5 separate regions of the Homo sapiens genome follow, and regions 2, 3, 4 and 5 are each linked to region 1. The links are contacts of gene promoters, found by promoter capture Hi-C in blood cells and fetal thymus (Javierre and others, 2016). All regions are on one chromosome and are shown on one strand. The core of a region is centred on a gene start or on the middle of the fragment in contact, and the rest is flanking DNA. Distances in the headings are between cores, read along the strand shown. Region 1 holds the start of PIEZO2 (piezo type mechanosensitive ion channel component 2). Region 2 overlaps PIEZO2 (piezo type mechanosensitive ion channel component 2). Region 3 overlaps PIEZO2 (piezo type mechanosensitive ion channel component 2). Region 4 overlaps PIEZO2 (piezo type mechanosensitive ion channel component 2). Region 5 overlaps PIEZO2 (piezo type mechanosensitive ion channel component 2).

Evidence for each region. The method cuts DNA at HindIII sites, captures the fragments that hold promoters and counts their contacts. A CHiCAGO score of 5 or more calls a contact.
Region 2: a contact is called between a fragment that was not itself captured here and the fragment with the promoter of PIEZO2 in region 1, in 2 of 17 cell types (M0 macrophages and megakaryocytes). The highest score is 5.2, in M0 macrophages.
Region 3: a contact is called between a fragment that was not itself captured here and the fragment with the promoter of PIEZO2 in region 1, in 2 of 17 cell types (megakaryocytes and M2 macrophages). The highest score is 6.0, in megakaryocytes.
Region 4: a fragment that was not itself captured here is called in contact with the fragment with the promoter of PIEZO2 in region 1 in 1 of 17 cell types (M2 macrophages); the score reaches 6.0 in M2 macrophages.
Region 5: a contact is called between a fragment that was not itself captured here and the fragment with the promoter of PIEZO2 in region 1, in 4 of 17 cell types (M1 macrophages, megakaryocytes, M2 macrophages and 1 more). The highest score is 8.0, in M1 macrophages.

What each region holds. Positions count from the first base shown.
Region 1 is chr18:11,146,228-11,152,062 of GRCh38, reverse strand. PIEZO2 (piezo type mechanosensitive ion channel component 2) reads left to right here and starts at 2,494. Exons shown (of 56, transcript NM_001378183.1): 1 at 2,494-3,538. The coding sequence starts at 3,475. It overlaps LOC124904249 (a long non-coding RNA gene), which reads left to right and starts at 3,547. Exons shown (of 2, transcript XR_007066288.1): 1 at 3,547-5,835. RefSeq lists silencers at 2,142-2,591, 2,832-3,111, 3,132-3,311, 3,322-3,391 and enhancers at 3,085-3,923, 3,952-4,001. The HindIII fragment of the contact is 3,432 bases long and covers 1,454-4,885 here.
Region 2 is chr18:10,767,131-10,772,965 of GRCh38, reverse strand. PIEZO2 (piezo type mechanosensitive ion channel component 2) reads left to right here. Exons shown (of 56, transcript NM_001378183.1): 21 at 2,658-2,818. Among named protein-coding and RNA genes, the nearest start is that of MIR6788, 10 kb to the right of the region's middle. RefSeq lists an enhancer at 2,231-3,430. The HindIII fragment of the contact is 3,035 bases long and covers 1,473-4,507 here.
Region 3 is chr18:10,800,799-10,806,633 of GRCh38, reverse strand. It overlaps PIEZO2 (piezo type mechanosensitive ion channel component 2), which reads left to right. Exons shown (of 56, transcript NM_001378183.1): 9 at 2,640-2,759; 10 at 5,206-5,244. Among named protein-coding and RNA genes, the nearest start is that of MIR6788, 44 kb to the right of the region's middle. The HindIII fragment of the contact is 7,536 bases long and covers 1-5,356 here.
Region 4 is chr18:10,820,336-10,826,170 of GRCh38, reverse strand. The region is part of intron 7 of PIEZO2 (piezo type mechanosensitive ion channel component 2); the gene reads left to right. Among named protein-coding and RNA genes, the nearest start is that of MIR6788, 64 kb to the right of the region's middle. The HindIII fragment of the contact is 7,771 bases long and covers 1-5,835 here.
Region 5 is chr18:10,869,264-10,875,098 of GRCh38, reverse strand. It overlaps PIEZO2 (piezo type mechanosensitive ion channel component 2), which reads left to right. Exons shown (of 56, transcript NM_001378183.1): 5 at 3,684-3,846. Among named protein-coding and RNA genes, the nearest start is that of MIR6788, 110 kb to the right of the region's middle. The HindIII fragment of the contact is 243 bases long and covers 4,464-4,706 here.

The DNA of each region.
Region 1 (5,835 bases), core at 1,245-3,744:
CCTTAACTTACAGATGAAGAAGCTGAGGCACTAAAAGTCTCAATAATGATCAAAAGAAGTCATTGTTTGTCATTGTGGATGCAGAGAGGCATAGGGTGTCTGGTGCTTAATTCATTACCGGGGTAAACTGGTGATTATACACATCAGGTACCCATGAAATATCAAAATAATATGTCCATGAGTATTTTACATGTTTGATTTCTCCCCAAAGCATTTTTAAACTCACATACTCTTTCAAATTTTAGACAAGATTCTGGCAAACTTTGGAATAAAGTTTGCCAGGCAAGCAGAGCTCCCGAACAGTGATCAATACCCTCATGGGCTGGTGAGTCCTTAAAAACTAACCTGTCTAGACACCAGATACTGCTTCTATGAGAGCAGGGAAAATTGAGGGTTAAACAGCCCTTGTAAAAACAATGCCACTGCTATGGATATGTATGCTCAAGTCAAGTCCATTGTGAAAGAAAATACAGCTTCAGAAAGGTGGATGAGGTTTGGAGATGCTGGTTTTGAAAGCCAATGGACTATTTTCTGAGTCTGATATGAAAATGAGGACAGCGGTCTTCACCCCTGACTGCATACTTAAGAATCACTTGAGAGCTTTAAGAAAAATACAGGTGTGGGGGCCCCATCGCAGACCAATTAAATCAGGATTTCAGGGAGTGTGGAGACTGAGCGTTTTTCAAAAGCTCCCCAGGTGACTGCAACATGTAGCCAGCATGGAGAAGCCTATTTCAGATGTAGTCTAGACCGCTGAAACTTCCCCTTGAGTACATACGTTGGAAGTCTCAGAACTGGGATGTAGTTGTTAAAATCTCTAACGCCCCAGCAGCCAAGTTGGTACACACTGTGGCAGAGAAAGCTCGAAGTTTATTTGGTAAGACCACCCACCTGCTGGGAATCTTGTGCCTCCCAGCTTATGTTATTTTGAAAGAGAATTATTGTGAAAAAGTCTAGACAGTTGTTAGTATGGGAAGCCTATCAAGAACATAAGAAAGTATTCAGAGAATACAGAATTCATGTGATGACACAGTATTATTTAAAATTCAGGAGTCCTTCACCTATTAGCTCCCAAGAATGAGTCGTACATGGGGTGAGGTGGGGAGGGCATGGATGTGAAGGCAGACTTATGAACATCAAAATTAGTGGTAGATTTATATCAGGCTTCTACAAACAGGCTACACAAACCATTTCTTGATAGCATTTCTTGGTGACTGGATGCTAATTTAAGTTCTATCGTCTCCTGTAGGTCTGCTGTTGAGCTCATGACTACGCCCGGGTTTAGGTGCTATCTAAGCTTCTTGAGGATGGCAGAGCACATGGGTGGTTTAAGTTTCAGGGTGTCTTCACCATATGCCAACTGTCTTGAGTCTTCATTCAAAAAGCAATGGTTCATAGTTTTTCTGTAATTCTCAGAGAATTCGTGAAGGCACCTGAGCTCAAACCACAAGCTTACCCTGTCTCAAAAAAGGGATGTCCACAAAAGCGTTTCAAATGGCTAAAAAGACGGGGGTTTGCCTGTTTTTCATCAGCTCACTGCTCTATCCCCTCCAACTAATGCAAGCCAGGAATGTAGGTGCGGAAGGGAAGCCAGGTCCTTCCCAGTGTGTCCTCCTGATGGAATGCCAGTCCTGAACAGTCCTCTCTACAGATGCTAACAGCCTCTTCCTCCATGTCCGGAAAGACCCCTACTGTGCTCTAGCAAATCTCCTCCACTCTCGGATAACAGTTAAATAAAAGACCCAGGCACACTGCAGTCTCCCAGCTAGAGCCAGATTTCTCTAGATCTTGCCTAGAACAGGCAAAAAGCAGTGCACTAGGAGAAAGGGAGAATATTCTCAGTGCCAACGCTCTCTTTCCCCAGAGCCACGACAAGCAAGGAGCAAAACTGAGGTGAAAACGGAGAGTTCCCCCAAATGCACAAAGTGGGTGCATTATCTGTTGGGGAAGACCCGGGATTTCCCAGAGTCTATTCAGAATGGCAAGTTCTTGCTATGTGAAATATGGGCAGGGTCAACGGTGTAGATGAATTCAGCTCTATTCTTCTTAATGCCAGTGTGCACCTGTGGACCCAGCAGAAGTCGGGGTCGCACAGGACTCTCCAAGCCCCTGGCTTCTCTCCTGCCGGGCCTGTGCGTTTCCCTCGGACCTTAAACGGTTCCCTGGGTTTGGGCAAGCTCAGGGCCCGGCCGGGTGGACTGGATGCCAGGGTGCACCACCGGAATGACAGAACCACGCAGAGCCGCGGGGCTGCGGGAGCCAGTGGGGCAGGAGTGCCCGCGGAGGGCGAGCCAAGGCGCGCAGCCCACTGGCAGGCCAGGCCGGGTCTCTCCCAGGCGCGGGAGCCGCGGGTGGGGGCTTGCCCTCCGCGCCGGTGCAAGGCTCTCACTTCCCCAGCCGCTCAGGGGCGGGCTCCGCGCGCGCAGGCCCCGGAGCCGCCATCCCATTGGCCGGGGGACACGCCCGTCCCCGAGTGAGGGCTTCGAAAGTTTCATTGAAGGTGGAGAAGCGCGCGCCGCCGGGGAGCCCCGGCTGCGCCGCGAGGGCGAGGCTGCAAGGCGGCAGGCGGTGGTCGCGCTGGGCGACGGGACGGCGCTGGTTTTTCTCTTGAGTTTTAAATTGAGGCGGTGGAGGAGGGAGTGGGAGACCCACTCACCCGATATGCGCTCTGGTCTCCATTTCTCCCCACGCTCGCGCCGTTCCTTCGAGTGAGGGAGGGACTCGCAGCGCCGCCCGCGCACCGGACCCACAAGGCGAGCCCCGTGGTGGCGGGGATGGTTCTGCGCGCCTGGCAGCTCCCACCCCGGTCTCTCCGGCCCGAAGCTGGGGGGCGCAGGGGCTGAGCTGCGCTGCCTCTCGGGGATCCGCCGCGGGCCGCCTGGGGGCTGGAGGGCGAGACCCGGAGCCCGCCGGGCAGCTCCGAGAGCCGGGGCCGAGGCCAGAGCGCGGCAGCCTGCGTGGGCAGCGGAGACGAGGCCGGGCAAAGGAGACGCGGTGGCTTCAGAGGGGCTTCCAAGTAGAAAACTCCCCGGCCGCCCCCAAACGACGCCCCGGGAGCCAGGCGGGAGCACAGCACGCCCTTCTTGCCCCCTTTGCTCGCCGCGCCGCCTCCCAGGACCCTCCCAAAGCGTCCCTCTCCAAGGCCCCGGCATCAGCTACCCCTGAAGAAGCCGCCGCCGCTGCCGGATCCAGGATTCACACTAAATGGGCCGGCCGCAGGGGGCCGGGCGCCGGGCTAGGTGGCCGCCAAGAGCCTGGTGAGGGGCTACCCAGAGCCCGGTGGGCGAGGGGCGGCCAAGAGCCCCGGGAGCGTGCCCTCGGGGCGGAGAGCGTCGCGGCCCGCGCCGAGGCGATGCTCGGGTGGCTGCGAGCTGCCGGCGGCGAGAGGCCATAGACGGGCATGGGCCTTGCGTCCCACCACCCCTAGGGACCCTCGAGCCTCGCCCCTCTGCTCCGACTCGCCGGACCGACGCGATGGCCTCAGAAGTGGTGTGCGGGCTCATCTTCAGGCTGCTGCTGCCCATCTGCCTGGCAGTAGGTGAGTCTGGTCCGCTTTCCGAGGGCACTTGAGGAGGACGAGGGGGGCGCCTGGGTGGGGGACTTCTTAACAAAGTGAAGGGCTCTGGTGCTCTGGGGTTCGATTCGGGAGGCCAGCGGCGTCAGACGCGCGCTGTCCCTGGTGCACAGCCTGGCTCTCTCACTTCCCACTCTGGGGCGCGCGATCGGGGTATCTCTTAACAGGATGCTCGGGACGGGCATGTGCTGGAAACTGTTTATGTTGAATTTAGTTACACGTGGATTTTCTTTCGTGGAGTACTGACTTGTGTACTAAGGATGGCCATTGCTGTGGCTGGAAGGCGGATGCGTCCCCATCGTAGGTACAGTCAGGCTCCTACCTGAGCCCCTCGCCCCAGTGACCCTGCAAGCACAGCATGCTGTGCCTCCAGACGGCCCAGAGGCCATCTCTCCCAGACCCCAAATCCCAGCAACCGTGAAGGAAGAAGTGAAGGACTCCGGTCATTCAAAAAAGAAAAAGAGGGACGAGGTACAGGGAGACAGTGCCTTGACGTTTCTTACTTATTTTTTAAAACCTCCACAAAAGCCCCTACTACAAAAGTACTGGATGCTAAGGCTATAGACCCCCAACACCTAGTCCCGCCTCCCAGCGGCCGCCCTCTCCAGATTTTAAAGGGTTAGAAAGCAGGGTTGGAACTCCTTGGGACTGGCAAGGGCCCAGGGAGGACCGCAAGGGAGCCTCCTCGACGCCCAGACAAGCGTTGCACCGTTTCCCCAGGACTGGCCTGGCGTGCAAAGCAACTGGGTGCTGCGTTCTGGGAGTCGGACCGTTTCTGATCTTCTCCTCAAACAGGCAGTGCCTGTGACATTGAATTCCTCTCGTAAGAATGCCGGGCCCTGGTTCTTTGCTCTCCCTCTCACCAACAAGAGCTAGGAAGTAGAGCGCTTTTCACCAAGTAGTAACTGTATTTACAGAGGGCGTGGCCTTCGCAGAAAAGGCCACCTTTTTGCATCTTGACCGAGGTTGATGACTCTGCATCTTGACCGAGGTTGATCACACCTGTGTTAAATGTTTTCTTTGTGCAAGCAATCGAATGGGGGCTGTAGCGTGATTGGTGAGGGTCAGGACAGTTGCCGGGAGAGTTTTTGTAACACACTTCGTGAGTGAAGAGTCTGGGAGGCGTCTTTTCAACAAACCTCAGCGGAAAACCCAGAAAGGCGCTCCGAGTGGAGGGAAGGTGTGGCCAGGCGGGGTCCCGGGGCAGCAGGAGGGACCCACGGGTGGATGCTGGCCTCGTTCTCTACTTTGCAGTTTGAGTTTCCATTTTGCAGGGGTCTAGTCTCACTCGCATAGATGAAGAGCTAAGCTTCCACAGAGCGGATATGCACCTCTCTCCCCGCCAGCTTGAAAAGCGATTTGGGAAAGGGATTCTTCAGGTGCCTTACACACAGAGGGTGTCACTGCTCAGGGATCATCTCTGTATCCTAAGCGCTTGGCACTGTGCCTGGCACATTTACTATTTGTGAATTGGAAGCTAGTGACCGAGTTAACAAAGGGCTTTTAGCATGAAGCGTGATTTATGGTCCTCAGTGCAGACCGGGGAGGGGTCCTGGGGAGTGGCACTAAGGTTAAAGGCCGCTCTGCTCCCTCCCAGTCCCTCTATCCACCGTCCTCCTCGCCACTGTTCCTGGAGGATGGACACCCTCTTCCCCATCCCCCATCCCGCTCTCCAAGGGACAGCAGCTCACTGTGACTGTTGGAAGAGTTAGGCATGTGGTTCCCTGCAGCCAGCTCGGTCCACTCTGTGACTTGGCACCAGTGGCGGAATGAAGTGCCAGCAGCGATTGCCTGCGACCTTGCCCTGAGCATAGGCTCTTGCAGGTTGGGCTCCCTGGACTCAGCTCACCTGCCTCCAAGCCCCGCGGATGCTGGGGTTGGGGCCTGTCAGTCCTACTAAAGGTTGGTGGCCTATGCTAAAAACTCCTTCAGTAGGGCTGTAGTACTCTGCCCTCCCAAGGGGAGCTGGCCTGGTTCACAGCACTCCCAGCTTGGGTTGCTGGGCACAGGGGCTCGGGGCGGTGACTCGCAGCCAGGGTGGAGGTGGGGGGACTGGGGTCTGGATTCAGCCCTGCCTCTCACCACTGGGACCCCCACCGAGCTTCTTCTGTGGTGCCCGCACACTGTTCACCTCCTGCTGGCTGGCTTGTGCCCCAGGGCAGGCTGGGGGCTCCCGCTGCCTGAGTCCACTTTGATCCTGGACTTTCTGGGAGGAGCTCGGCTTCCAGGGGCGACAAGATAATAACCTTGGCCAACATGCA
Region 2 (5,835 bases), core at 1,741-4,240, 380 kb after region 1:
GCCTAAGGACATGGGAACTGGAGGAGAAAGTCAGCAATTGGATAATTATAATTTCAAGCAAACTCCTAGAGATGTTTTTGTCAATATTGTTGTTACAGGAGTTTCAATCTTTATTATTTGGGCTCTTCTTTTCTACTTCCCTTCCTAGACTTGAAATAATGTTTTAATAGAGCATGATGAACATTGAGCAGCCTCAGTGATCAGGACATGTTATCTGACAGAGAATATAAAGTCTATGTAGCAGTTTCCAGAAAGACTGGGACAAACCAGAGAGCATCATCTCTGGGGTGAGGTTCTGGGGCTATGATCTTAAGATGCTGCACTTGTCTTTGCTGGTCAACTGTCCTTAACAAAAGTAGAAAACAAAAAAAGTAGCAAGAAGACCCCTTCCAAAGGTTTGTGCCCCTTAAACCTGGTGTTCTTTCCCCACTCATCTCAGAACACAGAGGAGAGGACTGGAAACGTTCTCTCCATATCTGAGCATTGTGAATTCCTCAGTGTGAAGGGGAGACCCCAGCTCTGTGAGGCCAAGGACTTAAGTCTAGGATTTTATGACACTACTTCAAGATGGATTTTGAGCTTTGCTAATAGGTCCTGCCCAAAATTGCTCAGCCACTTTTCTCTCAATCCCTCATGTCTGTGGCAGCTACACGTCTAAATCATGCTCATTTATTACCTACACCTTTTTATTGACTACCATCTGAGTCACTCTCTAAATACAGTAGTCCTGCCTTAGCCTTGGGGGACATGTTCTAAGACTCCCAGTAGATGCTAAAACCTCAGATAACACAGAACCCTGTATACACTATGCATGAATTTCTTTTTCCTTCTTCACAATTACACAGATAGAAGAGTTGTTCTTACCTTAGATCTTAGCAACCTCAGCATACATTTTTTTCTTTCGTTATTAATAAAATTGAGAATTGTTAACCATTCACTTAAAGGAAGCATTTTATGGCTTCTCTCTGGCATATTCAAATTGCCAGCATCACTACTCTTTCACTTGGAGCCATTAGAAAGTAAAATAAGAGTGACTTGAACACAGCACTGCAATACTGCAGCGGTCACTCTGAGAACTGAGACAGCTATTAATTGACTGACCACTGGGCAGGGAGTGTAGACAGCATGGCCCTGCTGGACAAAGGGATTCACATTCCAAGGGGAAGGACAGAGCGGGACAGCATGAGATTTCATCCTTCTACTCAGAACAGTGTGTAACTTAAGACTTCTGAATCATTTCTGGAATTTTCCATTTAATATTTTTGGACTGTGGTTGACTGCAGGTAACTGAAATCTTGGGAAGCATAGCCATGGATAAAAGAGAACTACTGTAAGCATACTTCACAATAACTAGAACCTTACTTAGCTTTCAGAACCAGGCACAGTAACTGTTGCATATACCCAAGCCAGTTAAAGAAGCTACTTAAAGAGATACTTAGGACTTGTAATCTGCCAAGACAGACTTGTAAGCTTTTGTTTACAAACAAGACAGGCTGATATTACAAAACAGTCCTGCTGTGACTTTCAGTCAATAAAGTGAGCCAGCATAGTCCTTCTAGATAGAAGCATGACTCCTGTTTTAGCACAAGGTAGAAATAATAAAATAAGTAATTTGATTAAAAATTATCATTTGAATGAATCTGACCATGTTTCAGAAAACCACGGGCTGAGTCATTCTGATGCTTAGAGTTCACTTCTTGTTCTGACAAGGAGCAAGCTCTTCCTGCCCATGCAGGGCTCTGACTGGTTCACTTTTTCATGGAAACCAGAGAGCTTTACCACTCACCAGTTAAGCCTTGTCGAAGGAGACAGGCCATTTATAAAAGTGCCGTTGTGGCAAGAAAGATGTCTTTTAGAAGGAGTTAAGATTATTTAACATTCCTAGAATATTAGAAAATTATAGTTTGGTCTTAAGAGTAAATAAGATTAAGGGGGCTGGGGGCATGGGCGCTCATGCCTGTACTCCCAGCACTTTGGGAGGCTGAGGCTGGTGGATCATTTGAGGCCAAGAGTTCAAGACCAGCCTGGCCAACATGACGAGATCCTATTTCTACTGAAAATACAAAAATTAGCTGGGCATGGTGGTATGTGCCTGTAGTCCCAGCTACTCAAGGAGAATCGCTTGAACTCAAGAGGCAGAGGTTGCAGTGAGCCGAGATTGTGCCACTGCACTCTAGCCTGGGCTACAGAGCAAGACTCTGTCAGAAAAAGGAAGGAAGGAAGGAAGGAAGGGAGGGAGGGTGGGAGGGAAAAAGAAAAGGAAGAAAGAAAGAAAAGTAAATAATGTTGATCATGCCACTGCACTTCAGCCTGAGCTACAGAGCAAGACTCTGTCAGAAAGAGAGAGAGAGAAAGCAAGCAAGCAAGCGAGTGGAAGGAAGGAAGGAAGGAAGATAATGTCAAAATCCTTCTTTACACTAATTTAATCAAAAGGTGGACAAAAGCCACATTGTCCCTCCAAGTCTGAGAGTATGATATCTGTGTCATCATGACTTGGGATTCTTACATCATCCTTATTCCAGATTTTGGTTTTCTTAGAATTCATCCACTGTAATTATTTTGCAGCCTCTCATTCCAACCTGAAAGTTACAAGATATGCTTTAAATGATAATATTTTTAAAAATGTTATGCTCTTGTCTGTACTTCCTATTTTGCAGACTTAAGGAACAAATGGCACCTGGTGATTGACCGCCTCACTGTGCTCTTCTTAAAATTCCTGGAGTATTTTCACAAGCTGCAGGTGTTCATGTGGTGGATTTTGGAGTTGCACATCATCAAAATCGTTTCCTCTTACATTATCTGGGTTTCTGTGAAAGAGGCAAGTGAACATTTGTCCTATCATCAGGCTGAACAGAACCACAGTAGGTCATCATTTTCCTTTTCCAGCTGTCCATGATTTTTTTAATGTGATCCGCATTACATCGGAGTATCAAGACTCCAAGACTAAGTACTTACACTTACAGAAATCCGAGGGTCAGCAGCACTGAGAAAAAGGAAAGAGGCTCGTGGCTGAGTTTCTCGTTGGCTTGGTCATATTACAAAGGCTACTTATTTTCATCGAATCCTTAGGGAAGAGTGTGAGAGCAGGCTGCCCTTCTGCCCCTGCCTATGGGAATCTATCTCCCTAAATTCTCCAAGGAAAACAGTAGCATTCCAGTTTACATTACCAAGGAGAAAGCTCAGGTTCCAAAATCTAATAAAATCTTTAGTAGAGTTCACCTTGTTTACTACTGGATTTCTTGAGATACAATACAAAGTCTTCAGCCATGCACCTGTACTGCACTTCTGTTTCCTTGATTGTAAAGAAGAGAGTCGTCATCCAGCCAACAGATTATTTAATGTTCACTGCAGAGAAATTAGCTTTCTTTCCTTTTATTCAACAAATAGTGTTTGCATACTTCTATATGCCTGGATTATTTCTGAGTTGGTTACAATTCAAGAATTCTTTGCCCTCTAAAAATTAATCAAGGGAGTACTGCCTATAATCTTTAAAAAGTTACATATATAACAGTAAAATATCACAACTACAACACTACAAACCTAAAACTTTTCACAAATAGGTAGCTAAGAGATGAACCTTAATTTGAGCTCCATAGTCTAAACTAGAACTTCTCCCCCATTTCATACAAACCATATGAAATGGGCAGGGAATCATTGCCAAGTGGGAATGAAAACAGAAGCCATTCTATCTGCGAGATTCGTGGGGAAATGGCAGCGGCTCCAATGTTAAGTCACTGGGCGTATACGTTAAATGGAGCCCAAATCTAGCCTAGTATTTATATTCATTGAGAGCCAACATTTAAGCATTTTAACTGTAGAGGTGAATTGAACAGTTCAGATAAAAATTTCAGGGTTAGGGTATTAAAGAGAAATGGAAAAGAACAAGAGAAGGCATTTGACAAAAAATGCACAGAGACCATTTCTGAACAAATCCAGTCTGAGGTACAGGTGACTTCTGATTCATGAGAAGCTGCGTGGCAGGGTGTGAAGGTGTGTTCAGACAGTGTGGTGATGGGAGTGGGCATTGGGGGAGCGGAAATTCATGGGAGTCGGACGCAGAGAATCTGCTGTCATAAATCCATCCTGTTGTACAATCCATCCATCAGAAAAGGGTTAAAGGATGCAATTTCTTATAGATCCTAAACAAAAGGCAGACATAACTTTTTCATTATCCTTAATGAGTCCCCAGACATAAACTTGTTAACAGACCATCAAGTAAACAGAATATCTAGTTACCTTGTTACACTCTTGGGAAAACAGCCTTCCATAGAGTATCACCACTCCCTTCTCTGTGATTCACACATTGTGCAGACTTTCAGAATTTTCATTCCTAATTTCATCTCTCTCACCTTTAACTTTAAAACAAGTGAGAGACTCCTGAAGCATAGAAATCCTGCTCTTTCTGCTGCTAGCATCTGCCAAATCCCATTGCTGTAAAATTGTTTCAGCCACTCGTGTTGTGCGTGATGTCACCCCACCTGCATGGGGGGTTTCCGGCCCTGAAGCTTTGGTCTCTGGGTTCTTGACAGTGTGTGCATTGCTGGCTCTTTCTAATGTAATTGGCACACTAAGCAATCAATTTGGTGATGACATCCAATCAAAAGACTTCTCTTCAGACCCTCATGGTCCCTTTAGAATGCATCCTACAGGGAAACTTTCCTCCGTGTCCCTGAACACAGCGCACTTTCTGATCATTCCTAAGAAATACAAAATCCTACAGTGACTTAAGTGAGCAAAATCTCACTTCAGTAGTTAAAATTGTGCACCCACAGAGAATCATCGAGACTCGGGTCCCTCCCCAGGTAGAAGCTCCTCCTTTCTTATCTGATCCTTTCTTTCTCACCCACATCTCCTTAAAATCCACCTCGCAGAGGCTCTTTAGTCCTTTTTTAAAAAAATCCACTGTACAGAGGCTCTTTATTCCTTCTTTTGTTTTATTCTTTCCTGGGCTGGAGCTCAGACTCACAGGCTCAGGGCAAGGCCCCCTGGGATGGGGATGTTGTGACTTGGCCTGTGCCATCCCATGATGGCCTCACGCTCTGGGCTGGCAACTGGCGGGTAAACCTGCCCTTGCCCTCCTGGAGGCTCCACGGTGGGGCATCCCACAGCCACTCTTGGCCGGCACTGACACCCAGCCCCTGGTTGCCAGCACCTTCTCCTCCTGGACTCCTCTGTGGAGTCCTGCTGCCCTTCCAGACAGCCTTCCCCGCAGCCTTGGAGCAGCTCTGGGTGCTCTGTGCCTCCCCATCAGGACCAGGGGCCACCCTCACACAGGCCCTGCTCTGCTTGTACACATGGAGCCCAGCAAAGAGACTCTGCACCCTGTAACCAGAGCTCTTCATCTCTTCTGGCCCCATGGGTACCAGTGCCCAAGCTCCAGGGTTCACGCATCGGGCTCCGAGTCATTAGCTCCTCACTCGGGCTGCGCGCAGAGGACGTTCTCCTCCCTGCATCCCCACCTGCCCCATCATCTTGGCACTGGGGGCTTGGGGGACAGGCAGGATGCAGCCCCTCTCCACAAAGAAAGCTCTTCAGGAGCTGTGGCAGCTCTGGGTTCCAGACATCCTTACCCAAGGCCTCAGTAAGGGTGCTTGTTTTCACAACTTTTGGGTTCATCTCTCCTGCAAATATTAAACCTTTTCAAAGTTAGCATCATGAAGCATCTGAAAAAGAAGAAGTTGCTGGAAAAGAAACAGAGAAACCTTTATTTTCCATCAGCATCTTATTCAGGAGTGACACTGCTTTGGAATAATCTAGATTTAAATATATATATAGTATACATAAACATTTTCTCCTCCTTTTGAAATACACAGCTACTTTCTAATTCCGAAGGCT
Region 3 (5,835 bases), core at 339-2,838, 340 kb after region 1:
CAAGAGGACTGGTGTTTCCCAAATCTCCTCCAGCGCTCTTAGCCTGTGAAGATGGAGTGATAGCCCAGCTCTTGGTGGTGCCTGTTGCCTCCTGAGTATCCCCTTGTGAGGGATGGGGATTCGAATATTCTTCCAGCACAACTGAGGGTGTTTATTCCCTATGAAAATATGAACAAGGACACAGCATTTCTGAGGGGAGGACTGAAGCCTGGGTGGCTTCTCTTCTCTCTTTTCTCCTTCAGTGACAGAAAATATCAGCCTGCTTTTCTTTCCCCTAAATGACTGTCAGGAGCCCGGTTGCAAGGTTGCTTATTGACACATGAAGGAGACAAGCTGTGTAGACAGGGTGGCCGCACCTTTTCAGGCCCCACCTGCGGGGAACCCTACAGCTGGGGACAGTTCTCATGAGCATGGCCCAGCCTGAGTCTCTGCATTCCAGTCCCCCTCCTCCGAATCACTTCTAGCCTGAGGCCCTGCAGAAGTTCCCTACTTTCTCTGTCTGTCTTTGTACCCACAGACCATTCCCACATGTTCATCAGTCAGCCAGTCAATGAGTATTTATGGAAGGCCAACTGGATCTGAAACTAACCTAGGGGCCAGCATAGAGCAATGACTTCAGTAGGCAGGGCCCCACTTAGAGAGCTGTACATTCTAAAAGAGAAAAATGGTCCAAGAGAAGCAAACAGGTTGTAAATCAGATAGTGACTGTAAAACTGCAGGAGGCGCATGGCTCCGGTCATCCCTGACAGAAGCGCCACCTGCAGAAATGAGGATGGTGCTGTCTTCCTCCTATGTGCTACCTCCCCCCCATCTCAGTGGCTAACAGCCATCTGTGGGATTAGGGTCTCAGAGGCCATCCTTGTTAGCAGGGTTCTCATGGATCATCTTTCTTTTAGGCCACTGATGACAGTTGTATAGTAACAAAATGATTTATGGGTGGTAAGGAATCCCAGTCATGTTGTGTTATATTTTTCTTCAGTTCTCTTCTAAAATTTGACTGTGCCAGTAGAATCATTAAAATTGTGTCCAATTCCTCCACAAACATGCATATGTATATGTATATATTCACAAATAAAAACATGTACATAAAAAATTAAATATACATATATATTTTTTTGAGATGGAGTTTCACTCTTGTTGCCCAGGCTGGAGTGCAATGGCATGATCTCGGGTCACCACAACCTCTGCCTCCTGGGTTCAAGCAATTCTCCTGCCTCAGCCTCCTGAGTAGCTGGGATTACAGGTGCCCGACACCACGCCTGGCTAATTTTTTTGTATTTTTAGTAGAGACGGGGTTTCGCCATGTTGGCCAGGCTGGTCTGGAACTCCTGAGCTCAGGTAATTCACTCGCCTTGGCCTCCCAGAGTGCTGGGATTACAGGCATGAGCCACCACGATGGGAACTATTTCTGAACAAACTCTTATACATTATGGAAATTACTTTAAGGCTTTCTAGTTATTAAGATTTCCCAGCCCATTTGCTTTCTCTGGGATATCCCATGTCATCTCTTGGATAATGCAGTAGCTTGATGAGGGCTCCGTTATAACTTTGGGTCCATGCGATATTCTGCTTCCACTGCCATGTGCTGTCTGGCAAGCAAAGGTAGCAGAGAGAGAGCCGGGAAGACCTTCTAGGCTATAGGCCACACAGCAACAGCAATGTTATAAATCACGAGGTCTGCAGGGGTATGTAGAGAAGTGGGCTTCAAACTATCATCAACATTTCATGTGGGCTCTATTTCAAATGGGCTGGGACGGAAGGCCTGTTGCATTGAGTCAATGAGAAAAAGAAGCTGATTATATCATAGTTCCAGGTGACCTGGTGCATTTAATGAAAAATACCGGCCACCAAATGTGAGTGCTGAAGTAGACATCTATGAAACATGTTTGAAAAAGAGAGAGAGAAAAGTCAGTGTCGAGACTTCAGTGTAATATGTGGCCCCCACCTGGCAAATGTAACGCCCCTCCCAGGGAGTTAGGGTGCCCTGCTTAGGAGTTCTACTCTGGTGCACTGGGACCCAGACAATGAGACTAAGTCCACTCCACTCCAGTATCAGTGATGCCTGACTGCCCTTTTCACTAGGACACTTTTGTTGGGAAAACATGCTAAGGCACCGAAGCGCTTCTGTTCCTCGTATTCCTCTCTATCACCTTTCCTAGACCAGTTGTCTAATTTAGGCAAATGTCTCATGTGCATAGATACGCTCTTGCTTAGTGCTGTGTGAGCTCTAGATGATTCTGCCTTCAATACATCCAGTCTTAATTGAAGATTGCCGGCAGCTGGCTTACACGGTTAACCGCGCACCTTTGTGAAGGCTCTTGGCTAAGAGCCATGTGCATCTCTGCTTTTGAGTGCAGTTGAGAATGCACGTGGAAAAGCTGTGGATATTTAACAATGGAGCATATTCTGTAATGCATGGGGCTTAGTAGAATCAGGGGACATTTAATACTGGTGTACTTACAATTACAGGGTGGTATTTTTGTCATTTTTTAAAGTGTCTTGATAAAATCCTGTATATTGTAAACATTCACTTTGAAAAGTCATCATACTGAGCCAAAATGAAAAGCTCTGTCTTGGCCACCCAGGCTGTCTAGGGAACTGCCTCAGGAAGCAAGACTGATCCTGTTTCTGTGTTTCAGGTGCAGGATGAGGGGACCAAAGAAGAGGACAAAGCCCTGGCTTGTAGCCCCATCCAAATAACAGCGGGGAGGAGGCGGAGCCTGTGGTACGCAACCCATTACCCCACTGATGAGAGAAAAGTAAGCCATGATGAAAGGGATTTCCGTTCCCTAATTTTTCTGTTTTTGTATTTTACTGTTGAATATGAGCCTTATAATATCATATATATCATATCATATTCAGGTTGCTTGTAGTTTATAGAAACAGTGATTTAGGAGAGTTAGTACCAGAGAGGGAAAACTATTTCCAAAGAAAATACCCAGATCCCGTCAAGAACATCATTTTATATTTCCGTGCTTTCTACTGAAATCTCCTAATCTTAAAAAGAATGTTCCTATTAAAAAATAATTTTGTAATTAAAACAAACAAAAGTAGCAAAGCAATCTGTTAGCACTGGAGGGTGAAAATTTCAGTGCTGAACTATATTGCAGAAAATAATTTTACTCTGTCGGGTATTTGGTTGATTTGGGTATTTGGCAGACAATTACTTGAAAATAAATGAAGTGAGCTCATCACTTTGAGGCAAACAACGGACAATAATTGTTACCAGTGATAAAATTTAAGCATTTGAGTAAAAATTAGAATTTTTGAAAATTCATATCTACTGAGGGCTTAAAAACTTTCCAATATTTGTGGACTTTTCTGATGAGATGAGGTGATATTGACAAATGTGCTTTTTACTCATGGCATACTGAAACTTGTCAGTATTTGGTAGAGTTCGATACCTGTAACTCACTGAAACAGCAGTTTCCGACTCACCAACACCTGACATGACAGCACGTGGATAAATGATCCAGTCGGGGTGCATGATATGCCAATGGGTTTTAATGTAGCAGAGTATGTATGAAAAGTTCACTGATATGGTTGCAGATTCTGCACTACAACTGACATTCAAGACTACACTGGTTGAGTCTGATCGAGTAGCAAAGACTGTCCACAGTTATTTAGACAGATTATTAAAATACCTTTTTTTTTTTTTTTTGGCAACAGAGTCTCGCTCTGTCACCCAGGCTGGAGTGCAGTGGTGTGATCTTGGCTCACTGCAACCTCTGCCTCCTGGGTTCAAGCGATTCTCCTGAATCAGCCTCCCAAGTAGCTGGGACTACAGGCATGTGCCACCACGCCTGGCTAATTTTTTTGAATTTTTAGTAGAGATGTGGTTTTGCCATGTTGCCCTGGCTGGTCTTGAACTCCTGAGCTTAGGCAATCCGCCTGCCTCGGTCTTCCAAAGTGCTAGGGTTACAGGCATAAGTCACTGCGCCCGGCACTAAAATACTTCTTTTTGACCAAATTGCATACCTATGTGAAGCCAGATTTTCTTTATCTACTTCAACCGGAACACCACATCACAACAGATTGAATACGGAAGCAGATGTGAAAATCCGGTTGTCTTTTATTAAGCTAGACATTAAATAGATATGCAAAATTATAAAACAATGACACTCTCTTCACTATTTGTTTTAAAAAATAACTATTTAAATTATTTATACTAACACACAATGGGTTTTTTTAAATTTTTAATGAATAAATACATAAGTAAATAAGTATTTTAAGACTACCTGGTCTAATTTCTCGTATGGTAGATAATTGATAGATAGAACCCACATAAATTAAGTCTCTTTGGGACCCTCAGTGATTTTTAAGAATGCAAATGAGTACTGACCTAAAATTGTGGTAGAACCACTTGCTGTGCTAATTATTATTTGGGGGAAGCCCAAATCACCTGGTAGTAATGTATTACTAGTTAAAAAGTAGAGTCATATAATAATCATTTTGTTGTAGACAGTATGCAAATCTTAAAATAATCTCTAACCACATTACAAATCAATTTTTCTTTTCTTTTCTTTCTTTTTTTTTTTTTTTTTTTTTGAGACGGAGTCTCGCTCTGTCGCCCAGGCTGGAGTGCAGTGGCGGGATCTCGGCTCACTGCAAGCTCCGCCTCCCGGGTTCACGCCATTCTCCTGCCTCAGCCTCCCAAGTATCTGGGACTACAAGCACCCACCACGACGCCCGGCTAATTTTTTGTATTTTTAGTAGAGATGGGGTTTCACTGTGTTAGCCAGGATGGTCTCGATCCCCTGGCCTCGTGATCTGCCTGCCTTGGACTCTCAAAGTGCTGGGATTACAGGCGTGAGCTACCGCGCCGAGCCCAATTTTTCTTTATTATGAAAATTCTATTTCTTGAAACATAAATACATTCAGAATTCTGCAGATGTCTCAAACGGGTACAAAACTAAGCGCTTATTCTTGTAGAACATAACCCTTGAAAAACATGGTAACATTTATAGACTTGCTTATCTGCTGTATAACTAAACATTAACATCAAGAGCTGTGAAATAGTTGTCATAAACAGCAGCATCCAGCTCATTTATTTGTCCTTTTATATTTTGCATGGCAATATTAATATACTAGCAATCAGCAAGTTAAAGAGAATGGGCTTGTGCACAGTAAAACTTTATAGATACATAAACAGTAAAATGCTTTCAGCTTCCTTACTAACATGCTTTCCCGCATTGCTTTTTGCAGCTTTTATCCATGACCCAGGATGACTACAAACCATCTGATGTTAGTATACCCTTAGAATTATCATTTATGCATGTGTAAGTGATGTAAAGGCAACAAATGGAAGTAGCTCCTTTGAGTCTATTTTAATGATCTATTAAAATTTCCATAAGCTTTTCCATTTTTGGGCATAAATTATATCTGGTAGATTGCTGTTAAATGAAATTGAGTATAATCATACAAAATATATTTAAATTTTAAGAAGCTTTGTGGGCTTTTTAAAAAGTGTTTTGTTCTGTAGCTATGCCTAATTCGTAAGTAGGAAGTTTTGCATGCCCATGGGCGCACATACACCTGTGTATTGGTGGGTGTTATGTTTATCTCAAAAATTGTAAAGCCAAAGAGACAGAAGGATGAAACAAGCAATTGTACTTAGTGGTGTAGTAAGGACATAGCAACCTGCAGTCAGGCAGAGATCCCCAGAGGGTGATGCCTTAGCTGAGATCCAAGGGATGTTTGCATTAGTCCTGTGCAGAGCCACATAGGGCATAGGCAGGACAATGTTGGACCACAGCCCAAGAAAGGTCTAGAGTCCCATATAGATGGAGGGATGGCTGAGAGGTGGACAGTAGCAAAGGCTGAGGCTGGAAAGAT
Region 4 (5,835 bases), core at 1,248-3,747, 330 kb after region 1:
TTCTAAATACCACTCTCCAATAAAAGGAACCAGGGCTCCTTGGAGAAATGGCTGATACTAGAGTTAGGTCAGGGTAGTGGTCAAAGATGGAATAATTTGAGGAACAAAATAAATAAAGTTGTATTGGAGTAAAACCTTGGGTATAAAATGCATATTGTGAGTTTATATTGATATAAGTAAATGATTGAATGAATAAATGGGAGATAAGAGGCAATTCTGTCCAAAATGGAAGAATTCAGAATAATTCCTAACTTTCCACCCCATTGAGTGTGGGCTGTGCATTGTGACTTCTTTCCAAAATATAGAGTATGGAAAGTGGAGGCCAGGCATGGTGGCTCACACCCATAATACCAGCATTTTGGGAGGCTGAGGCAGGCAGATCACCTGAGGTCGGGAGTTCGAGACTAGCCTGGCCAACATGGTGAAACCCCATCTCTACTAAAAATACAAAAATTAGCCTGGCATGGTGGCACATGCCTGTAGTGCCAGCTACTTGGGAGGCTGAGGCAGGAGAATTGCTTGATCCCAGGAGGCAAAGGTTGCAGTGAGCCGAGATTGTGCCACTGCACTCCAGCCTGGGTGACAAAACAAGATTCTGTCTCAAAAAAAAAAAAAAAAAAGGAAGAAAGGAAAGAAAGTGGAAAAAAAAAGAGCAACTTCTTTGTGGAGAGACCTGACAAACACTCAGCCAAGTGATCAAACTTAACATCATCAGGTATAAGTCATGTTGATAGCATGTATCCTTGGAATGGTGTGATGAGAATGGCACTTTACCCCTGCAACCTTTCTCCCCCAAATCCTTAACCCCTGCATAACCATGAGAAAACAAACAAAGCAAAACAAAGGGGCATTCCACAGAATACCTGATGAGAACTCAGAACTGTGAAGCTCATCAAAAACAAGAAATATCTAAGAAGTCATTGCCTAGAGGTGCCCGTAGAGACATGATGATTAAATGTAATGCAGCATTCTGCATGGGATTCTAGTGTGGATAAAGGACATTAGGTGGCCGGGCATGATGGCTCACTCCTGTAATCCCAGCACTTTGGGAGGCCGAGGCGAGTGGATCACCTGAGGTCAGGAGTTCAAGACCAGCCTGGCCAACATGGTGAAACCCCATCTCTATGAAACATACAAAAATTAGCCAGGCATGGTGGCGGGTTCCTGTAGTCCCAGCTACTCGGGAGGCTGAGGCAGGAGAATCACTTGGACCCAGGAAGTGGAGGTTGCAGTGAGCCAAGATCACACCACTGCACTCCAGCCTGGGTGACAGAGAAAGACTCTGTTTCAAACAAAAATAAAGAAAATGACATTAGGTGAAAACTAAGAAGATTTCAATAAAATATGGACTTTAGTTTAAAATCATGTCTCAGTATTGTTTTGTTAATTGTGACAGATGTATCATACTAATGTAAGATTTAACAGTCGAGGAAAATGGGTATAGAGAATTCTCTGTAGTATGTTTTCAACTTGTCTGTAAATTTAAAATTGTTCTAAAATTTAAAAAAACACTTGAAATATATCTTGGAACTTGTTTCATATCAAATATAGATATGGATATATAGATAGATGGATTTTTTTATTATTTTAAATGGATGCATAGTATTCCATAATATACATATATATGTCATAAGTTATCTAGAAATCTAAATCTAAATTTCTCTGTCATGTTCATTTAAAATTTTATTAGCTTTGCACTATTACTGTTCATAGCCAACAAATATCCTTAAATAAACATGAAAGCATATATGCAATAACTTGTCTGTATCTAAATAAAACATAAAACCTAAAGAAGTTTTGAAAAACTCCAGCAGAGAAAGCTGCAGATGGGAAACCAAGGCTCTGCAAATATTAAGGTCTTGAAGGCCTTTATATCACCTTCTTGTTGCCTTTATTTTAAATACATTTTTTCCCACAGACTATGGAGACTTGTCTCTTGCTACTCTCGTAAATTATTCCCTAGCCCCAGATTTCTAGAGTAGTCTGTGGTTTATTTATGCAATGAAATACTACCCAGAAGTTAAAATGGACTATATTATATATGTGCATAAAATATATATATAGGGTTAAATTCATATAACAATTGTATGTATTATTTATGGGTGCATACATATGTAGAAAAAGTGAGTTAAATATTCATGGGAATGATATACACTGACCTTAGGATAAGGCTTGAGGAAGAAGGAAGAGGAGGAGTGAAAGAACTGTAGGCAAGGCTTTAGCTATGCCATGAAGTTTTAATTACTTTTTCTTAAGTGTGCTGGCAGAACGAAATGTGGCAGAATGCGAATATGTGCTTCCTCTGAGCAATGGGTGTCTGTGTATGTTTTATAAGTCCTATCATTACATTCAATTAAAAAATGGAAAGCCATTCACCATTCATGTCAGTCTCTTGTGTTGTTGGTAAATTATTGTGGGATTCTTTTTCCCTCTGATTCTTCAAAGACTAGCTTTGTATTGCTTGTATCTGCACCTGTTGATTGCAATTACATTTATCCCTCCCCTCCCTTTGTTTCTCCACACACTCTGTACTTTTTGAACTGGGTTGTTTCCATTTAAGGAAGGCCATATTTGAAGATGAAAACTAAGCATATTTGAGGATGCGTGAATGAAAAAAATTATTCCTTCAAGCATTCACCAAAATAATGTGCAGCTTTGATTCTTTTATTTTTCACACGTTCTAGATAACAGATGGCACTTTAGGGCTATTAACAGGATGTGTGAGAAAAAATTCAGGGCTATATGTAGTGATTCTTTTAAATACTCCCGTTGTTGAGTGGACAATTTAAGTCATCATAGTTGTGAAGGGAATAAAAGAGAAGCGGCAGGTTGTTTTTGTTAGAAGTAATCTCCAAAATACAAAATAAGAAAGTAAGAGAAAATTTCCTACTTTTGCAAAATTAAACAATCTGAAAGCTCAAATTAATTATTCTTAATAAAAAACAAAAATGTTAATACATAAATAAAAAGAATCTTTTCTGTCTAAAAAGAGAACCTAGACATTTCAGCAAGCCAGTGCAAATTCTTTCAAGCTCTCTACTTCTACCTATTCGGTACCTTATAATGGAGTTGATGTTACTGGCAATAGCTCTAAGGTCATAAAATGTCTTAAATACTTTCTGAATCATGAAAGAAAAAGTTATATCATTTTCAAATCATCTTAGTATTAAGAGATATTCTATTTGTTTTAAAATAGCAGCCTGTATAATGTCTAAGAAGTTCACAGACTTCAATCTAGCTGAGTTCCAAAAGTTTGTTGAGCCGCTGATTTTTCTGGGTTAGATATAAATGTTAATTTCCAAGTTTAATTTATGAAAGTTAGTTTAATCCACAGTAGCAGACTTCTGTTTGTTGGCTGTCTTTTGGTTCATACTCCCTTTTAGAAACTTGGCAAGTAGACATTCATTAGCCGCTTAGTGCACCCCAACGCGTTCACAAAATTGCAAAGAGAAGCATTGATAACATCTAACAGGAAATGTGGTGAGCCGGCTCCTGCTGTGCCGTTCTTTAGTCCACAGGTTCACTCCTTCCCGACCTATGAGAGCTGATTCCACTAGGCTGATTGGAGGCCAGCAGACACTGGCCTGGTTCCCTCCATGCTTTCCAGGGCTGGGACTTAGCAGAAAGGAGCCTGGTGCTCCAGCATTCCTAATCAGGGAGCTTCTCCAACTAAGTGTCAGGGCCTCTAAGACATAATAGGAAGTTTGTTTCAGTGTTTTCTCAAAGGTATTTTTAGCCATCACCACCCTGGAAAAGGGAATTTTAATTACTATCATTGATTATAATGGTAATTTTAAGAATACCAACTTTATTGGGAGGAAAAGTTTCAGCTATTTATTTCCAATATAAAGCTGTAGAAAATGTTAGTTAGGGATGGGTAAGCCATTAGCAAGAGATGATTGACAATATTCTGACTTAATACTCTAAGTCACTGCTATCCCAAATGGCAGATCAGTGCTGGTCCATGAATTGTTTGAAACAGATTTTCAACAAGTTAAATGCAGACGTTGAGAGAAAGCATTTAAAATTTATATAGCACAATGACATTGTGGTGACATGCAGGCATGTGATCATTTTCTACTAATTATTATTTTCTGTTACATTTACAAATGTATTAGTACAAATGAATAGCAATTTTTAAAGGGTCTCATAACTTGAGAAACACATTTTAGAAGGTAAGAAACTTGTTAGAAAATCTATTTTCATTACAAAATGTGTAACTTTGATTTTCTCTGACAAATTTATACTAGCACTATTGCATTTGTAATCAATGACTCTAATCACGTTTAAATTTACAAACAATATAAAAAGAAAGTAAAAAGAGAACAAGGAGTTTTCCTGAGATTCTCTGCTAAGAATTCAAGAAAGACAAAAGTGTGGAAGAAGTTGAAAGAGGATGTATGTTCACCTGAGGTCTATGTTGTAAATGGTGAGAGACAGGGAGGGCGCAGGATGGTGCTGTGGGTAGAATCTTTGATGAAAAAGGTGGTGGTGGGTGGGGGTGATACTTGACTCATATTTCCTGGTTCCAGCAACCTGGAAAACTTCTAGGTTGTATCTGAAATGAGGTAAGAAGAGAGAAAATAAGGCAAGATGTAATTATTCATTTTAATGTATAAGCTGGTTACAAATAAAATATTTATTATTCATATAGTGTTTATATATAGTAAGCCTTTGATAAAAATATTGTTTTAATCAGAACATTCTACTTCTAGGTGGGTAGGTAGATACCTTTATGCAAGTATATATTCATATTAGTCAGGCAGGTGTTAAAAAGATATGTGAAGTGTACTAGACCAGCTATCCTCCTATAATCAAAGAGAAAACTAGAGAAAATATATGAAACAACTGTTTTCAGATGCTGAGCTATTGGAAGTGTGGGTTTATGATGGCTGAGAGAAGGGAAACAACAGGATAGGCTAAAGGATTTTTCCAGCTTTCTACCTGGAGGAATTTACTGTACATTATGTGGGGAAGGGAATCCAAACTGAGCATGGTGGTCTTGCTGAGCTGAAGATGGGAATTTGGAGAGGATGAGAAGGCTGATATTTGTGGCACAGAGTAATGGAGAGGAGAAAGACAGAGAAAGAGCTCCAGAGATCTTCAAGGAGTCATCTAGACACTTTAGCTGAATTCTAAGCTGTGCATGCATAGGTAAGACTCCATGAAGTCAGACAAAGCAAAACTCCCGGGGAAAGAACAAAAATTGAGGAACTGTAAAGTTAGTAACTGCCAGAGCTCATATAGATTTCTGAAAATATTTTAGCTTTGGCCAGAGTGAAGAATTCTTCTACTCTACTGGGACTGAGCTAATCATACCGTGAAGGTTACTGCAGGCCCATCACAACAAAACCTATAAACAAGCCTACTAGGATAAAGCTGATGCAAGTAACTTAACTTCCTGCCAGTATAAAACTCAACACTTTTTAAATGACAACAAAATCGAGACACTCGATAATGTAGAAATAACAATGTTCAGCATCCGGATGAAAATTTTTAGACATGTGAAAAAGCAAGAGAAAACTCAAGCAATGAAAATCAAACTATAAGTGAAACCTCCTTAAAACAGCTTTTTAAAATATTTTCAAGATTACAGAAAATGGACATAATGAAAACAGGAATGGAATTTATAAAAGAGAATTGATGGACAAAAAGAACAAATGAAACTGAGGAGCTACAAAAATACCATAGCTATAATAATCTACTGAATGAGCTTAAGAGCAAATTAAATACCACAGAAGAAAAGATAGATGAACTTGAGGATAGAATGATAAATCCTACCCAAATTGAAGCACAAGAAGAAAAGAAATTGAGGAAGAAAAAAAAAAAACCACT
Region 5 (5,835 bases), core at 3,336-5,835, 280 kb after region 1:
ATTTGTAATAATTGTACATATTTTGGGGTACATGTGATATTGGATACATTCATACAATATAAAGTGATCAAATCAGGGTAATTGGGGTATCCATCACCTCAAACATTTACCATTTCTTTGTGTTGGGAATATTTTAAATCTTCTAGCTATTTTGAAATATATAATAAACTATTATTAATAATATAGTCATCCTACTGTGCTATTGAACATTAGAACTTATTCCTTTTATATAACTCTATTTTTATTCTCATTAACCAACTACTCCTCGCTCCCCCTTCCTGCCATCCTTCTCAGCCTTTGGTTACCACCTCTCTGTATTCTCTGCCTCTATGAGATCCACTTTTTTAGCTCAGACATATGAATGAGAACATTGTCTTTGTGTGTCTGACTTATTTCACTTAAAATAATGACCTCTAGTTTCTTCCATGTTGCTGCAAATTACAGGATTTCATTCTTTTTTATGGCTGAATAATATTCCATTGTGTATATACAGCATATTTTCTTGATCCCTGATTCTTGAGTGTTGATGGACACTCAAGTTGATTCCATATCTTGACTATTGTGAATAGTGCCGCAGTAAATATAGAAGTGCAGATATCTCTTAGATATACTAATTTCCTTTCTTTTGAGTATATACCTAGCAGTGGGATTGCTGGATCATATGGTAGTTCTATTTTTAAGTTTTCGAGGAACCTCCATGCTGTTTTCTATAGTAGCTACACTATTATACATTTCCACCAACAGTATACAGGGGTTCCCCTTTCTCCACATCCTTGTCAGCATTTTTTTTTGTCTTTTTGATAATAACCATTCTAACTAGGGTGAGAGGATAACTCGTTGTGGTTTTGATTTGCATTTCCTTGATGATGAGTGATGCTGAGCATTTTTTTACATAAGCTGTTGTCCATTTGTATGTCTTCTTTTGAGAAATGTCTATTTCAGTCATTTGCCTGTTTTTAATTGGTTGTTTATTTTTACTATTAGATTGTTTCAGCTTCTTATATATTCCGATTATTAATTCCTTTCAGCTGGATAGTTTGCAAATATTTTTTCCAATTATCTAGGTTGTCTTTCCACTCTGTTGATTATTTCCTTTGCTGGGCAGAAACTCTTTAGCTTGATATAATCCCATTTGTCTACTTTTGCTTTTGTTGCCTGTGCTTTTGAGGTCTTACCCAAAAAAATCTTTGTCCAGACTAATGTTCTGAAATGTTTCCACAGTGTTTTTTTCTAGTAGTTTCATATTTTCTTCTAGTAGTTTTATAGTTTTCTTCTAGCAGTTTTCATGTTTTCTTCTAGTAGTGTCATAGTTTCAGGCTAGACCATTTTTTAAAGCAAATCTGATTAGATTGAAGATTGATTCCTAGGAGATCCTAGATTAGAAGACTCTTTAATTAAGTTTTAATTTTTATGTATATTATAGTAACAAATACGTGGAAACATTCTATTTATAACAGTAGTTGACTAGTTAAATACCGTCTGTCCATTAGTATGATGATATATAAAAATAAATCATCAATGAGTTGTAAAAATGTTAATGACATGTTAAATGAACAAATCAGCTTGCAAACAGTAGGTAAATAATGAACTTAGTTTTGTTAAGTATAAATGTGCACATCCATGTATAGAAGGAAGATTGGAAAGGAAGGCCATGTGGATACATACATGGGAAAGCGGTTGAAAGCATAAAAGTGAACGTAGGGAGAATGGAGTATAATTCTGTTCTCTATGTGGCTTTTGGGAAGTTAGATTGCCTTTTGAAGCCTTAGTCTTTTCACGTGTAAAAGGATAATAATGCCTAACTCAATATGATGGTTGGTTGGATTAATTAATAATGTGTCTAAAGCTCTTAGCACGAAGTAACTGCTCAGAAAATGGTAGGTATTATTGATAACTTTTATTTTCCAAAATATTAACAGTAGCTATTTCTAGATGCCAAGGTTCTTGCTATTTAATATTTTTAAATATTTTCACCAAAATATATAATATATAATGTAAACGAATACAGTGTGTAATCACTTAAAGTGCATATGAATATGTATATATGTGTGTATGTATTTACATGGTATATTGCCCTATCTTTTGCTTCCTTTCCCTAAGTAAGTTGTATCTCTGATAAACATTTTTTCAAAGACTTAACCCTCCTTTGAAGTTCTATGCTTGATTTTTCCATGGATCATCTTATCTTCCCCAGAAGTTTTAATGCTGGTACAGACTCTTGACTCCTCTACCTGTATCCTCCCTATTTTAAACTCATTTTGTAAACCTAAGTCTGTATAACTTTTTCTTCATATCACCTAGTCATTTCATTAGCTTTTTCTTGTTACAGCTTATTTTATATTATATGAGTGAGCAGAGAACATGCCGGGAATCGCTCTTCATGTGGCTTTAATAATAGTAATAGGTACTGTGGTTACAGCACTACACATCACTAGAGCACTGCAAGCCCAGTTGCTCAGTGTTGCAAAGGCACACAGGGCAGGCATCTAGCACCGGATGAGGGACATGGCTGGCCCGTGTCGTGTGCTGAATGGTGTGAGAAGTCTGCCAGTGCCTATTAAGCTCTGGTGTCTTGCAGCAGAGTGAGCTTAGCCAGAACACATTTCAGCTGAGGTGATGTGTGCTGGCCAACTATGCTGGCAACTCAGTATACTGCCTCTCATTCCCATATTCATTACCACTGGACGCCTCCCAAAATCACAGATGGCGTTTGTATTACCTTCCCAGACAGATCTCTCCTCCTTTTCCAGTTGAAGCCCTTTCTACTCTCCACTTCACCTTCTGGCCTTTGCTGCCTGCTATATTATTAAATATATTTGTTTCAGGATCTCAATTATAACAAAAATGCCCTATATGTGTGAAAATTATCTAAGTGTCAATTGATGCTGCTCTTCTCAAAATGTAGGCTTAGTGAAAATATGTGTTTCATTCTTTACAAAGAACTTTCACGAACATTATTTCATGTATATGTATTTATATTTTCTTCTAAAACCGTGACCTAGTATCTCATGTCACTTGAACAAAATAAGGAAGGCAAATAGTATTACTTCCTCAGCACAGCAGAACAGATGGCTGTGAGAAGCCCCCAGCAGGATGCAACTACTAAGTTTCAGACTTGGACTTGAACTCAAATCTTCTAAGTTCAGTGTTGTTTCTCTGGGATTAAAAGAGAAAATGTACTGGATCCACCTTTCTTGGAACAATACAGAAGACAAAATCAACCAAGTATACAAAATAATGAAGAGGTCCTGGATTCCAGGATTACTTTAACATTTTCTCTATTTTCCTTGTATCTTTGACTTATATCAAAAGTAAAATATCTTCTAGCTGCTAGTATGTATTTAGTTTTAGACTGCTTCAGCTAGATTGCAAACAACTGCATTTGTACTGGACATGTGGTTTATTTAACAAAAACATAGTCCATTAGGACGTTTTAGGAGTGAGGATTGGTTCAAAAGTTCTTTATAATATTTCTGAAACTCCAGGGAACACTGGAATCTTCCTGAATGTGTAGATTTTGTGAGACACTGAGGTCAATAAAAAGCTTTCTTGTACCTTTTAGGGAGAAACGGAGCATCTTTTATTTTAAATCATTAAGAAGACCAAAACATCCTATAAGGCAGTTTAACCGTAGAAATATAAGAACTAAATTTTTTTCCCCTCCCCTTGTTTTTCCTTTATAGCTTAAAGGGAGCTGATGCTGGCAATGGGATCAGAGTGTTTGTACCTGACATCGGGATGTTCATTGCTAGTCTGACCATCTGGCTCCTCTGTAGAAACATTGTTCAGAAACCTGTGACAGACGAAGCAGCACAGAGTAACCCGGAGTTTGAAAATGAAGAATTGGTAAATCCAACTCCATGTCTCTTCCTTCTTTGATTTCTGAGGACCTTGACCCTTAATAAGTTGCAGAACTATGATAATAACAGCTGAGCATACAGAGCACGTTATGATTCACAGTGCTTGACATAAACGTTTACTGTCAAATTGCATGACACCCTCGTGCAGTCCCGGTGGGCAGACACTCTGGTCCACACCTTAGCCATGAGAAGACAGGCTCAGGGGTGTTCATAGGTAAGGGCCAGGCTTTGACCCACCACCCCAAACTATCACGTGATATTATCTCGGAGGCTAACCGTGCAAGGTCATACATAGTGTTATGGTTCAATTGGTCTGGGTACCTTAGTTATTGCAGAATATTTAAAGAAGTAACATCTGGTAGTTTTAGGGAAAAAAATGAGTTCCTCCTTGCAGGGCAGCTTTCCAGTCTGTGCACCTTGTCCTGCTCAGTGGACTGGTGTTAACTTGGCATGCTTTGATCAAGTTGTTTTAAAGCACTCCAAGGGGGAAAAACATACATATTTGGAAAAGTGTGAGAATTTTAAAAAGGTAAAAATAATGAACGAGATGTATGTTTGCTAGCTGGTTGAAAGGTTTCAGGAGCAACTGCTGAATTGGAAGCTTGTCCTATTTTCGTCCTTGGGTATCAGAGCTGTCAGACGGCTCTCACGCTGCCCCCTGACCAGCCTCAGGACACTGTTATGTTCTAATAACTGTACTTTGTTAGGTGAGGTTAGGAGACATCAGTTTAAAGAGTAATTGATTTATTAGTGGAAAGATAACATTTATAAAGGAAAAAGTGACTATTTTATTTGGACATTTGATGCAAAACGCTTGCAAGTACTAAATGTTTTCAGTCATAAGCTTTGGCAAGATATTACACTTATAAAACTGAAGTTAATTGAAGTTACTTATATTGAGAATGTTAACCGATGAGCCATTGAGGGAGGAAAATTCTCACTTATGGAAAATGATTTATATGGTTCACAAGAAAGCAGACAATTTCCTTGTATGCTTATTTAAAAAACAATAAAGGAGGGATAGAATTCAATAAACCTATGCAAACTAGAAATGATATTGTCTAGCCAGGCACTGTGGCTCAGACCTGTAATCCCAGCACCTTGGGAGGCCCAGGTGGGCAGATCACCTGAGGTCATGAGTTCGAGACCAGCCTGGCCAACATGGTGAAACCCTGTCTCTACTAAAAATACAAAAATTAGCTGAGCGTGATGGTGCTTGCCTGTAATTCTAGCTACTCAGGAAGCTGAGGCAGGAGAATCACTTGAACTCAGGAGGTAGAGGTTGCAGTGAGCCGAGATCACACCACTGCCCTCCAGTCTGGGTGACAGAGCGAGACTCTGTCTTAAAAAATATATACATTGTCTAAAATTCTTATGGGTAAAAGATATGCAATCACCTTGCTTATCAATATTCTGCTATTTTTAAGGCAAATGTTAAAATGATGCTTGGTGTAACAGTAATTATAGTAAAGTCAAAGTCACTACTAACCACTTACATCTTACTTTCAAGACTTGACACCATAAGGCATGCATTAGTGCCCTAAAAACGGAAGAGTGCTTCTTCTTCTTGTTGACATTCCAATTGTAAGACAGAGGATTTAAATTTTGACTATTTTTTACATTTACAGTTTGAAAATGACTTTATTTAAATAATCTTTACCAAAATTTGCCTAAGTTTGGGGAAAGTAAACCAGTAACTCACATTCTTCAGACTGGGTATTTGTTATTTTTATGATTTATAAAAGCAAGTTTTTGTTTGTTTGTTTGTTTGTTTTTTAACTTAAGTTCTGGGATTCATGCGCAGAAAGTGCAGGTTTGTTACATAGGTATATATGTGCCATGGTGGTTTGCTGCAACCAACAACCCGTCATCCAGATTTCAAGCCCCGCATGCATTATTATCCTCATAAATAATAACTATAGAAGGAGGGGAAAGGATAAGTATTGAAAATTGAGTGGACTTAGAAGTCAGACAT